Regions from separate parts of the Homo sapiens genome. Here region 1 is linked to region 2. Evidence: promoter capture Hi-C in 16 types of primary human blood cells and fetal thymus (Javierre and others, 2016). All regions are on one chromosome and are shown on one strand. Each heading gives the region's core, a stretch centred on a gene start or on the middle of the fragment in contact. The rest is flanking DNA. Distances are from core to core; before and after follow the strand shown. Region 1 overlaps AGPS (alkylglycerone phosphate synthase). Region 2 holds the start of HOXD9 (homeobox D9).

What was found. Contacts are between HindIII fragments. The CHiCAGO score rates a contact against its expected background, and 5 or more counts as called.
Region 1: a fragment that was not itself captured here is called in contact with the fragment with the promoter of HOXD9 in region 2 in 1 of 17 cell types (activated CD4 T cells); the score reaches 5.1 in activated CD4 T cells.

Annotation. Positions count from the first base shown.
Region 1 is chr2:177,412,571-177,419,563 of GRCh38, forward strand. All of the region lies in intron 1 of AGPS (alkylglycerone phosphate synthase), which reads left to right. Among named protein-coding and RNA genes, the nearest start is that of AGPS, 23 kb to the left of the region's middle. The HindIII fragment of the contact is 1,575 bases long and covers 1,208-2,782 here.
Region 2 is chr2:176,119,612-176,126,194 of GRCh38, forward strand. It overlaps HOXD9 (homeobox D9), which reads left to right and starts at 3,108. Exons shown (of 2, transcript NM_014213.4): 1 at 3,108-3,974; 2 at 4,323-5,326. The coding sequence starts at 3,158. The coding sequence ends at 4,564. It overlaps HOXD10 (homeobox D10), which reads left to right. Exons shown (of 2, transcript NM_002148.4): 2 at 1-326. The HindIII fragment of the contact is 6,351 bases long and covers 695-6,583 here.

The DNA of each region.
Region 1 (6,993 bases), core at 745-3,244, 1.3 Mb after region 2:
GATTCTAAGGAAGGATAGCAAGCGAAAGTAGTCCAATATTACTCACCGCTTTGGAGAGTCCCTTCGTGGTTGCCAAAATGTTACCAGGGTGTCCTTGCTCCTAGAGCTCCCAAGATGTTGGCGGCCACTTCCAAGATGGCAGCAAGCCTCTTGTTCTCTGACCTGGGGTTCTTGGCCTCACGGATTCCAAGGAATGGAATCTTGGGCCATGTGGTGAGTGTTATAGCTCTATTAGAAGCCATGGGTCATGGAACAGAACCGTGGAACCCAGCGACTAGTGTTCAGCTTGATTAGGATGAACTTGGGCACTTAGCTGTGCAGGAACAATGGCAAGCCTTTAGCCCGATCGGGAGTGGCAATGGGTGCCTCGCTGGATCAGGAGCACAGTGGACACCCTGCTGGATCTGGAGGGGTGGAAGTCAGCATCAGCGGCGGGTCTGCGATGGCGGCAAACAACAGTGGTGGATGGCAAGTGAAAGCACAGCTGGAGCCATAACAAACACAGACCAGAAGAGTATGCAGTTGCAAGATTTAATAGAGTGAAAACGGAGCTCCCATACAATGGGAGGGAACCCAAAGGGGGTTGCCCAACAATTACGGTTTACAACAAGAATACTGTGTACATTAAGCCGGTATGGATTTCAGTCTTGGTATTTTTAGGGTCATGCCAAGGGTATTGTTGGTCTGTCCCCAAAGGACAGCAGGGGAAGGGAACTTAGGCTTGGTTTCAATGCTAAAATGGCATATAGATTTTTGGAGACATTTGTATTTTCTTTGTCTGTGTTCAGTTTTGTAGTTTCTACAGAAATGCAAGGCTCTACCAGAAATGGCTTTGGTCACTTATGGATTGGTCAGTATAATAAGCTTGTGATACAATTCCTTTTTTAATTACTAACAAGCATGGAGTGAGCAATGAAAGTGAATTGGCATTTTCCCAGTTGGTGGTAGAGACAGTCTGGGGTTGGTTGCCAAAATTGCCATATTGGGTAGATTACAAGTGGACAATGAAGGGAAAAACCATGAAATTTAAAGTACAGTCCAGGGAACACAAGAGTCCAAGTGAAGGATATATCCTTTTCTCTTTGTCCTTTGCTATGACAACCTCCTGATGCAGATTTGGATTGTTTTCCTCATTACGTAGATCAACACCTGAGGGTAAAGGGTAGGATGGTTGTTTCTTTCCAGGCTTCCAGAATGGCAGGTACCAAGCTTGTGTGAGTGGATATGTGGGTACACACCTGCCCTTACCACAAAATATTTGTAACATACACTACTAAATGTATGAATGACTAATAGTGTGTATTTCCATTTTCAAATGCGTCATTCAAACAGTAACAAGTTTCTAATTGGTAGATTATGGTGTAGTGTGTGAGAGAAGTGTGGGAGTAAAGAATGGCACCCCAAGAACCTGAAGTGATTAGTGACTGCCCAGAGTATTCTGTCAATGTGAGGTAAAGCTGGTCTTGCCTTATTTGCCCTTCTTGCCCCCCGCCCCTTTCCTGTGCCTCTGTTTAGAATTTTTCCCCTTTATACCTGTATATTACTTTTTCTTTCACTCATTTATTCATGATAAATGTAGTAGGAATTGGACCTTTGGGACGCAGTTTTTGAGCCTTGAATTCAAGTTTTAAAAGGTTTCTTTCTTTTCTTTTTTTTGAGACAGGACCTCACTCTGTCACCCAGGCTGGAGTGCAGTGGCAATCATGGCTCACTGCAACCTTGAACTCTTGAGCTCAAGGGATCCTTCTGCCTTGGCCTTGTAGTAGCTGGGATTACAGGCTTGCACCACCACACCTGGCTTTTATTTTATTTTATTTTTGAGAATTAGGGGTCCCGCTGTATTGCTCAGGCTTATTTTGAACTTCAAGGCTCAAGTTATCCTCCCACCTTGGCCTCCCAAAGTGGTGGGATTACAGGTCATTGTGCTTGGCCTTAAAAAGTTTTTTAGAGTGCTAGTTTCTTGTGGACTATAAAAAGTTGACTGTAGGTAGTTAAATGTATATTTGGTTTACCATATAGTTGAAGCTGTTTAATTCATAATGGAATTCTATCATTCAAAAAAATTTGTAGCTATTGCTAAGAAGCCCAATAGATTTTATAATAAACCATCATGAAAGTTCTGTGTATATATGGAAGAAAGAATTATTTTCTCAGAACAGAGAGAAACTGCACTGAGATTCAAAGGCTGAGCAGCGTATTTGCCTCAGGTTCAGAGAGTTGTGGTAACATACATTTTTAATGTATGGTATTTGTGTGAGGCCTCTAATTTTCCTCCATCTCTGATTACTAATTTCATCTGCCTATCCCATGGGTGCCTATGAAGGTTCGTGTGTGTGTGTGTGTGTGTGTGTATAATGTATATAATATACATATATGATGAATGCATTATAAATAATATATCTGGATATATTATATATAATATTTTGTGTTTTGTGAAATATGCAGTGTTATTTAGTGTGTATATTTTTAATTCCCTTAAATGCTGTTTTACTATGGATTTTATTGTTTCTCCTTTGTGTTTACCACTGTTTTAAACATTTCATCGTGTTTCTATATGCATATCTATTCAACTTACTGCTTTTGATTGCTGCATTAATATTTCATGGAATGCATTTTCCACATTACTTACCTGCTTCTCTAGTGATGCCTCCAGCTACTCTTACAAACAATGCTCCAGGGAATATATCAAATGTGTTCCCTTATGGAATTGTATATGAATTTCCTATGCAATATATACCCAGGAGTTGTATAGTTGGGTCATAGAATTGGCATTACCTATGAAAGCTTACTACATGATTGCTCTGTGGAGTGGCTTACCAGTATGCATGTGGATTCCTTTTCTTCATGTTCTTGTTAACAACTTTCTGTGTTCTCAAATCTCATATTTAAGCCACTTTGCATTATCACACTGCTAAGAATTATCACATTGATTAATAACTTATTATATCACAGGGTCACATTTTTATTCTGGCAACTAGAGCTGAGAAACTTACAATGGGGATATTGAGGGAAGATTGAAATTCTTGTTGAAGTTTAAAGTGTTGCATGATAATGTTCAAGAAGGCTCACTGTCTAGAGGACACAGATTATACCTTGTTGACCCATCTAGAAACATGATCTTATCAGAGTCCTCAAGTTGATTACATTTAGATAGTCTGACTGCCCTCACCAGTTACCAAAGTTAATTAACAAGCCAATAAACTAATTCATGATGAAAAGTAAAACTGTAGATCCTTTTGGCCATTTCAGTTGTCCTTTTTTTTTTCTCTCTAGGAAATCACAATATTATCAGATGAAGGTAGCTTTGTGAGTTTTATATCAGGGCAAGAGGAAATATTGATCTGAAGAGTGAAGCATCTTTTATTAGAATTTTGATTATTGGAATTTTATCAGAAAAACTTTTATAAAAGTTATTAGATAGCTGAACTTTTACAGTTGTTAACCCAGAATGAAAGTAGCCAAAATCATTTTTTCCTTTTCCTTATTTTCTAGTGAAAAATATTATGACTATTATGATTAGAAATAGCAATGTAGAAACCATGCATATATATCAGGATGTTTGCAGTTTATTACTAGTAGAGGAATAGTAGTGTGACAACCAGTCTGTAAACAGAGACTTCAAAGTGAAAATTTCCCATTTTAAGAATAAAGAAACTCTTTATGGTTTTTATAATAGTAAGGCTAAATCTAAATATTTCACCTAAAGATTGTATAATAACAGCCCTGAAAAATGCAAAATGCTGAATATGTACATCATGTACATATCATGGGAGAATACTGCCACCTTGTGCATATAGGATGCTATTTTATGCCTCCATTTTCTTTTGTTACACCAGCTAATACTTGCTTTTTCAGTTTGGTACTGTGGTTAGATGTGTAAATGTGTAAAACATTTATTTTTTTATGCAGTAAAATCAAGCCAACTATTCTTTCGGCAGGAGGAGGGTTTTTTTTTGTTTTGTTTTGTTTTTTTGAGACGGAGTCTTGTTCTGTCACCCAGCCTGGAGTGCAGTGGTGTGATCTCGGCTCACTGCCACCTCCGCCTCCCAGGTTCAAGCGATTCTCCTGCCTCAGCCTCCTGAGCACCTGGGACTACAGGCATGCGCCACTACACCCAGCTAATTTTTTTTTTTAATTTGTAGTAGAGATGGGGTTTCACTATATTAGCCAGGATGGTCTTGATCTCCTGACCTTGTGATCTGCCCACCTTGGCCTCCCAAAGTGCTAGGATTACAGGTGTGAGCCACTGTGCCTGGCCCGGTCTTGTTTTTTGAAAGATGTTAAATTTGGTATAGTTAGCTCTAAGAATTGGAATGTCTGAGATCATACTGGTTAATTGACCTCTGGGGTTAGTTGAGAATTGGATTCTTTTATTTGAATCTTATGGAAAGTTGATGATTCTTTAATCATTCTTCATTTTAGTGCTTGCAGTACTTTGGGGTTATTCTGAATGGCAGAATTCATTACACTATCGGAAGTATAGGGAATTTGGCTTCTGACACAAACATATCCCTTGATTTTTAAATGTTTTCCTTCAGCTGAAGTGCAGAAGAATTACTACAACACAGGGTGAGCATCCTTAATTTGAAAATCTAAAATCCACAATGTTCCAACATTGGAAACTTTTTGAACACTGTCATGAGATAGTGATTCCTTTGCTTCCTGATAGTTCAGTGTATGCAAACTCTGTTTCATGCACAAAACCATTAAAAATATTGTATAAAATTACCTTCAGGCTATGTGATAAGATGTATATGAAACATAAATAAATTTTATGTTTAGACTTGGGTCCCATCCCCAAGAAATCTCATTGTGTATATGTAAATATTCCAGAATCTGAAAAATATCTGAAATCTGAAACACTTCTGGTCCCAAGCATTTTGGATAAAGGATACTCAATCTATAGTAACATGTAATAGTTTCTTGAAACAGTATTGATGTAAATCAAAAAATGAGTTCTTTCAAATATTCTGGTTATCTGACAGCCTGACTTAGATGGGTTTCAGATATTATTGCCTCTCTGAAGAGGAAGAATTATGAGACTGGAAGTCAGCCTTTGGATACTCACAACTAACTTAGCTGCGTGACCAGGGATGCTTCTCTGGGCAGTTTCTTTATCTGAAAAATGAGCAATTGAACTGGATGGGTTCTGAGGATCTTTTTAGTTTTCAAATTCTGTGACTATATAAAGTTTTACTCTAATTTTAAAATGTTATGCTGTAATACCGTTCAAAATACTTCTATGTATAAGAAGTTATTAAAAAATTTAATCATATAGTTATATTTAACTATCAGAGTATATACTAGTAATTTGGTGGGGATGGGGTTAGAATATGTGTACATAAAAGTTTAAAACTAGAAGCCTGGGAAATTTACCTGTTTTTTATTTAACACCTGGGGTACTTGAAGATATCAGAAGATTGGTTTGGGGGTAATCTAGATTTTAATTGTATATGATTTATGCATAATCCTGTTTTGGGTATAAATGCATTCCAAATGCCTACATTCAACTTCTGAGAAGACTCCAAAAGTTGATATAAATATGGTAAAGTCCATTTCATAAGCCCAATTTTATGACTGGGATGAAAAGAGAGAAAAAGGTACCTACAGTTGAAAATTTGGAAGTTCTTTAGAATATTACCCAACTTGAAAATTTAAGGCCAAAGACTCTTCAGGATGTAAATCCCTTCATTTTATAGTGTATAACAGCAGATCTTTCCTGCTATCTTGATTCATTTCCTCATGAAGTGCTAAGAATGAACCCATGTGACCAAGTTTAGCTTTTTACTTTGGGGCCATCTGGGGATAAGTTTTTAAATTCTAGGGATAATTTTAAGGAAAATGATTTTCGTTGTTAAGCTACATAAACATGCCAGATTCAACCTCTGTACTGAAATGATTTCCTTGTGCCTTGCCTTGAGATTTTTGCATTTATTTTGTGTAATACCAAATTACTATTTTGTAGAGAACAGAATTATAATAAATGTTGAAATTCACTAATAAAATGCAATCACATAAAATCTATGCATATTATAAGCCATTAAAGATGTTAATGTATTAAAATATACATTTATCCTTCTGATTATTGAAATATAAGAAAATACTAAGTAAATTATACTTCATAAAAGTGAAGATAATTTAATCATGAAAAAAAGCAAAGTGGAAAATATCCTAATCTGTTTTTAGAATGTGAAAATCTTATGGTTCAATCCCAAGTTTTGGCACCAAAAAAAAAAAAAGTAAAATCTTAAGAAAATGTGTGTGTCACTGGTAACATTAGTCGTGATGTTTCTCCATAGAGATTTTTCCAAAAGCTCCGTTCCAAAATCTCTCTCTGCAATGAGGTAGGAATGTTATGGGATTAGAAAAAATATTTGGTGTTAGTTTATAACTAATCTACAAATCCAGTCTCTGGATTGATACTCTTCAGATATTTTGAAGTTTTTGTAGAGGGACTGTAGCTTTTATTAATAGCAAATCATAGTTGTAAACAGAGCATTCCTAGTTTCTTTGTCTTAATTTTATGTATAGATGGAGATTTCAGCTCATAATTAATTACCTGTATCTGGCTTAGTTGTATTATGTTCATGTTCATTTGTTTGAAAAGCCTTTGAACTAGAACAAGAATTATGATTGTAATAAAAAAACTTGCTTGTCAGTTGTTATTTTCTTCTTTCTTGAGAATTACAGAGAATAAGAGAACACTTTCTAATGCGTGCATCTTTATTTTGAAATTTTAATGCAGCAAATAACTTTCAAGATAGAAAAGGGTTTTTGTTAAGTTATTTGCACCATAAACTGCATAGTTGAATTTGTAGTAAGAAGACTCACCACCAATTTATTTCAGTAGCCAAGATCAAACTAGGGTACTATGCCAAAACATGTAATAAAAAGTGATGCAATACTTCAGCATGATTGCTTTTTATGTTTTGTACAGGTCCAGACCTATCTATTCTTACATGATGTGCAAAATTGAATGATTCAACCATTGAT
Region 2 (6,583 bases), core at 1,858-4,357:
TAACACAAAAGGTCTATGTGTGTGGTTAGTCCATGAACTCATGGCATTTTGAATACATCCAGTACTTTAAAAATGACATATATATTTAAAAAAAAAAGATTAAGAAAACCCACAAGTTGGAGGGAGGGGGACTTAAAAAGCACATTACAATGTATCTTTTCACAAATGAATTTAGCAGTTGTCCTTGGTGAGATGGGATATTGGCGATTTATGCCTTGTAGCCTTTCCCTTGTGGTGCATCTGTGGTTTGGTAGAAGTACAACAGCAACCTGTCCTTTCTGTGCATGTTCTGGTCGCATGTATAATGCAATAAACTCTGGAAATGAGTTCACTCCCTCTGCTTTCTGAAATGGAAATATGTTATGGTGGAAATGAAAGCCTATGGTGAGATTATCTTCTGGTTACACTCCCTGTTTGGGGCATTTGGGCAGGGGAGTGATAGACTAGTAGGGGAAGGGAGATGGGGGAGAAAAGCTGGAGGAGGCCTAGGGTGTTGGATTTTGGCAGTGGTTGGGGGAGAGGAATTATAAGCTAGCTTGAGAGTGAAGTTTTCATAATTGGGAGGAAGGGGAGTCTCCTCTTTCCTTTCCCAGTCCCCAGTGATAGTAACATAATTGCGCTCTCAATGGGTGTGAGCTTTCCTCTGGCCTGAACCTGGTAAGTAAGCCTATACCCCAAGCCACTTTCTCCTCAAAGCTTCCCATTTGTGTGTTTTCTCCTCTTTGGTTTTGGTTGTGTTGTTTTTAATGCTTTCAGTGGCATCTTGGTGATTTCTGGCTGGCGAGCAATCATCAGGGGCTAGGTTGAAGCTAGTCTTGCCCACCTGGAAGTTGCCGGCCTCCATTACAGGAGCAAGGACAAACAGCAGTGTAGCACTGCAGCGGATCCAATTCTGCCCCCTTTCCCTCAGCCCTACCCCCATCCCAAGCGCAAGACAGCCAGACCCCAGAGAAGCCGAGGATGGGTGAGTTTTCCCATCCCACTTCGCCTTGATCTCCTTGTGGACGGGTTTTATGCTCAGTCATTACCTTTTAGTGGCCCACATGAAATTTTGTTAAAGGAAGAAATGAAAAGATTTTCCCCAGTCAGTCTTTCCTCTATTTAATTACAAAATGCTGGTGGGAACTGCTGCATCTGGGATGCAAGAAAATGCAGAAAGGGTGACTGAAAATTTTGCAAATGAACATGACTTCCCATGAAGTCTAATGTTCCATTCGCTGCCATGGTCCAGGGGACTCCCACCAGCTTCCACCGGCTTCAACAGGATCTCCACTAGAGAGCCCAGACTTATCTAGTCCTGTCGGGGAAAAGGGAGAAGAGGCCTTGCAGGAGAAAGCTAACAGAAAATTCGTTACCTGAGGTCCTGCCTGCAGTTTCAAATAGCTTCCAGCAGTTTTACAAAACACATCCTTTCCATTTCTTCCTTTTAAATGTTTCCCTAAGAACGATCCATTTAGGTGCTATAAGTCCTCAGCCAGGGAGTCTCTGGGACACTGGCATTCAAAATTTTAAACTTCCGCCCCAAAACCAGGAACATTCCAAGACAGAACTCTTTTAGGGGGCCATTTCCTGGGGGTGGGGGAGAGGGCTTGGAATCAATGCTAGATTGAAAACGTTGTAATAGCTTTGCCCCAGACTTAACACCGGTTGGGCAGGAGGAGGGTAATTTTTATTTAGCCGTTTCTCCGATCATGTGGGGAATACCATTAGCTGTTGATAGCGGGCCATGTATCCGAGGAAAGCCTGAGCTACAAGGCAAAGGCATCCCATCTGGAACAAAATCAGAAAGCTATTGGCAAAGGTAATCAATCAGGCCATAAATAGCCATTTACCCGCTTCCTTTTCGGGGCTGGAGGTGGGCCGGGAGCCCTCCAAGGGTGAGCTGGGCAACTTGTAGAGCAAGGAATATGCCCTCCGCTGCCGGCGCCCCGGCCGCTTTTGTCTGGGCTCCCAGCCGGGCTTCCGAGGCTTTGTACCATGGATTTGGGAGTGACAATGGGCATTTCCCTCAGATTCAAGGCTGCTCAACCTCACCTCTGTAGGGGGAAAAAAATCAGAAGGGAGTGTCCCAAGGACCTAGCCATTCGGCCGAATTTTTTAGACATTTTGGGAGTCTCCTCCGAGGCCTTTAAGTGCGAACCGCGCGAAGCGGCCCTGCCCGGGGAGACTCGCTGAGGCAGGGCTGAGGCGGCGGGCGGGAGCAAGCTGCTCTAGCATTTGGGTTCTGCCCTGTGGCGTGTTCTCTTCCAGGGCCTTTCCAGCATCATCGGAGAAGACGAAGCACCCTGGCCGCCACTGTCCGTGCTGCGCCAACTCGCCCGGCCGCCCGCCCTTCCGAGGGCAGGCAGAAGCCCCTCTGTGTCCTCCACCGCCGCGCCCCGGCTCGCCCCTCGGGCCGCGGCGTGTGCCCAGCCTCACGTCGGGGTGTGTGTGGCCGCGCGGGCGTGTGTGAGTGTGGCAGGGGGAGGGGGCCCTCCGATCTGCTCCATCCGTCCGTTTTATTAGGGACACATTAATCTATAATCAAATACACCTCATAAAATTTTTATTGAAAGGCATAATATCATTACAGAGGTCTTCCACCTGTTTTAAACAACACGACAAGCTGTGAGCAAGCGTGTGTGTGGGGATGTGTGGGGAGGGGTGGGTGTGAGTAGGGAGAGAGGCGAGGGGAGAACAGCTCCCCTCGGGCGCTAGGGGCCGCCCCGAGGGCCCGCCTGCCTCGGGCGACACCGGCCTGGCGCCCCCGCGGCCGCTCCGTGTGCCCTGGACTCGCCGCCCGCGGCTCGGAAGCTGGAGAGTCAGCGACGGGGCCCGACTGCGGGACCGAGGGCTGCAAGAAGAAGCGAACAAATAGTCCCCAGCGCCTCCTCTGGATGCGGTCGCGTCTGTGGTCCTGGCAGCCGCTGGGCGGGCCAGGCCAGGTCGGGCCGGGCCGAGCCGGGCACATGGACCTGGGCCTGCGGGCTCTAATTGCGGCGCTTATGTTGATGATTTTTTTTTTAATCACAGCAGCCCCCAGTTTAGCGGACTGATTTACTCCCGGTATTGGTAAATATGATCACGTGGGCCGCGCGACCAATGGTGGAGGCTGCAGCCTGCGAACTAGTCGGTGGCTCGGGCGCCGGCGGGGAGCTGCTCGGCGGCGGACAGTGTAATGTTGGGTGGGAGTGCGGGACGCCTCAAAATGTCTTCCAGTGGCACCCTCAGCAACTACTACGTGGACTCGCTTATAGGCCATGAGGGCGACGAGGTGTTCGCGGCGCGCTTCGGGCCGCCGGGGCCAGGCGCGCAGGGCCGGCCTGCAGGTGTGGCTGATGGCCCGGCCGCCACCGCCGCCGAGTTCGCCTCGTGTAGTTTTGCCCCCAGATCGGCCGTGTTCTCTGCCTCGTGGTCCGCGGTGCCCTCCCAGCCCCCGGCAGCGGCGGCGATGAGCGGCCTCTACCACCCGTACGTTCCCCCGCCGCCCCTGGCCGCCTCTGCCTCCGAGCCCGGCCGCTACGTGCGCTCCTGGATGGAGCCGCTGCCCGGCTTCCCGGGCGGTGCGGGCGGTGGCGGTGGTGGTGGAGGCGGCGGTCCGGGCCGCGGTCCCAGCCCTGGCCCCAGCGGCCCAGCCAACGGGCGCCACTACGGGATTAAGCCTGAAACCCGAGCGGCCCCGGCCCCCGCCACGGCCGCCTCCACCACCTCCTCCTCCTCCACTTCCTTATCCTCCTCCTCCAAACGGACTGAGTGCTCCGTGGCCCGGGAGTCCCAGGGGAGCAGCGGCCCCGAGTTCTCGTGCAACTCGTTCCTGCAGGAGAAGGCGGCAGCGGCGACGGGGGGAACCGGGCCTGGGGCAGGGATCGGGGCCGCGACTGGGACGGGCGGCTCGTCGGAGCCCTCAGCTTGCAGCGACCACCCGATCCCAGGCTGTTCGCTGAAGGAGGAGGAGAAGCAGCATTCGCAGCCGCAGCAGCAGCAACTTGACCCAAGTAAGTGCAAAAGAAATTGCCCCCTGATTTATTGCTGAAACCTGTAAGGCTCGAATGTGCAAAACTGATAGTTTTACTAACCTATAAAAACGTCTAGACGCCTACCCAAGCCTAGGCGAACAACATGCATCCATAAAAAGAGCTTCCCATAACCACCTACCCTGGGCGCTCAGTTAGTACGGTAAACAGAGCGCGAGCATTAAGGCTTTTTATGATAATTCCCCACAAGTTGTGAAAAGCGACCATCCTTGGTGAAATTAATTTAACGACCTCTCTTCCCCACCCTGTGGTCTCTCCCTGCCTCCCCTCCTCTCCTCTCTCCCCGTCTCCAAACCTCCCTCTTTGTAGACAACCCCGCCGCGAACTGGATCCACGCTCGCTCCACCCGGAAAAAGCGCTGTCCCTACACCAAATACCAGACGCTTGAGCTGGAGAAAGAATTCCTCTTCAACATGTACCTCACCCGGGACCGGCGCTACGAGGTGGCCAGGATTCTCAACCTAACAGAGAGACAGGTCAAAATCTGGTTTCAGAACCGTAGGATGAAAATGAAAAAGATGAGCAAGGAGAAATGCCCCAAAGGAGACTGACCCGGCGCGGTGCTGGCGGGAGCGCTCAAGGGCAGCGGATTTGTTGTTGTTGCTGTTTTCCTTTGTGGGTGTTTGGTGCTTGATTTCCAGAAACTCTCCAGCGACTTGGACTTCTTCTTCTTTTTTTTTTTCTTTTTAGATAGAAGTGACTGTGTGGTTGGTCTCTGAGGTATTTGGGGGACTCTGTATTTGCTCGTTTACGTGTTGGAAAAACCAAGTGGCTTTGGGGTTTCGCCCTATCCCACTCCCTCTCTTTCCTGCTCCATTGGTTCCTTAAGAAATGCTATATTTTGTGAGTGCAAGCTGGCTTGGGGAGCCCTCTCTTGTGTAAATGTCCCCCATGTTTCTGAAAAGTGCTGTAGTTTAGTCCCCTCACCCCCAGCACTGCCCAAACAGGGGCCAAGTGCGCCCCAATTCCAAGAATGAAGGCAGAGCGACAACAGTGCGGACACCCCGGCTGCTAGCCCACGGTGAAGCCCGGCGGGGTTGCCCACCAGTTGCGAAAGCCCCCTTTCCTCAGGGAGCACGCGGGACCTCGGTGGAGATCTCCAGTGAGGCTTAGAGGAGCCCAGGGCCTCGGGCGGGTTGGGGTTTGTCCTCAGTGCATTGGACGCGCTGCTCTCTCCCCTGAAGGCTGGGCTCGCGTGGGCGGCCGCGGGTGGTGGCCCTCCCGGTTCCTGCCCGAGGACCAGTTGTAAATGTTACTGCTTCCTACTAATAAATGCTGACCTGATCAAATGGAGCCCAGACGCTGGCCCTAAACATTGTGTGCCTGCTTTCTCTGCCTCTCTGCAAAATATCACACTCAGGATATTTCTCCTCTACCCCTGGGAGTGAGACATTGTTAAAAATTCAGGGCCCTTCCACCTGACAGATCTCTCTGATGTGTCTCTGCCTTCTCTGCCTCACATCCCTTTGTGTAGGCAGATGCAGCAGCACAGACCCTGTGGGGGGACATTGGTGCCTCCCCAAGCCTGGTTCAAGGTCCTCCACGAACTCTGTGCTTGGGCCCAGTGTTAGCCTTGCAGAAGCGCCCAGAAGAGCCAGCAGGCCCCAGAAGCCAGGCACTTTCAGGCTGGGGCTTGGGTACACAGCACCCTAACCTTCCCTGGGCTCCTGAAGCCCCAGATGCCAAACCCCTCTCCAAACAAGGGAAAGGCCAACTCTACACTCTGGAGCAACTGTCCCAGCTCGGTGGGGCTAGCTGGCTCCGGGAGGTCCCAGCTGGTCAGGCTGTGAGCTTCTGCTCCTCCCCACCAAAGCCCCAAAGTGACCTTAGCGATCAAAATGGTCAAGGCTCTCCTCCCCAGCCACCTCCATTTCACCGCCCCCTTCCCCCCACCCAGCTTCTGTGTATGTTTAGCCCCCAGCTTGGCCCTCTGAGGGCTGCATTCAGGGGCTAAAATGAAGGTCATTGTAAGTGAGGGTTTGGGTGAGCACAGCATTTGCAGGCCAAAGAGGCAGCACTGCCAAGTGGCCTGAGCTGGGTGGAAGGTGGGGGCGGTGGCAGAGATCTTGGGGGATCCCAATGAAAGAGGGGACGCGAAGAAAAAGCATAGGGGGGCTGGGAGGGAAAGCCAAGGAAGGCCCAGATCCGGCAGAAGGTGCTGCGCACCCCTGCCACTGTGGCCAGCTGGGTACCTAGGGCTCTTTGAAAACAGGAAGAGCCGAGGTGTCATAAAGCCATCTAGCGGGCCAGACGTCTGGAGGTAATGAGTTTACGACAGGCCCAGTGCTTTGCTTTGAAACCATCTCATTTTGATGTTTGTGTTTGTGGGAGAAAAGGAAAAATGCAGACAAAACTGGGTCTTAAAATCTAGACAATAAAATATAAACAAGACTGCGTTGGACCAAGAAGGCAGGGGCATGGGAGCCCCCAGGTGAGGTGTGAGCACCTAGGAAGTAAACATGAAAGAGGTAGGAAGGAAGAGGTGAATGAATTTCTGATTTTTGAAATGAACCAGGTAATGGAAGTAGCCTAAGGAGATGGCATTTTACAATATTTTGACTATGACCACG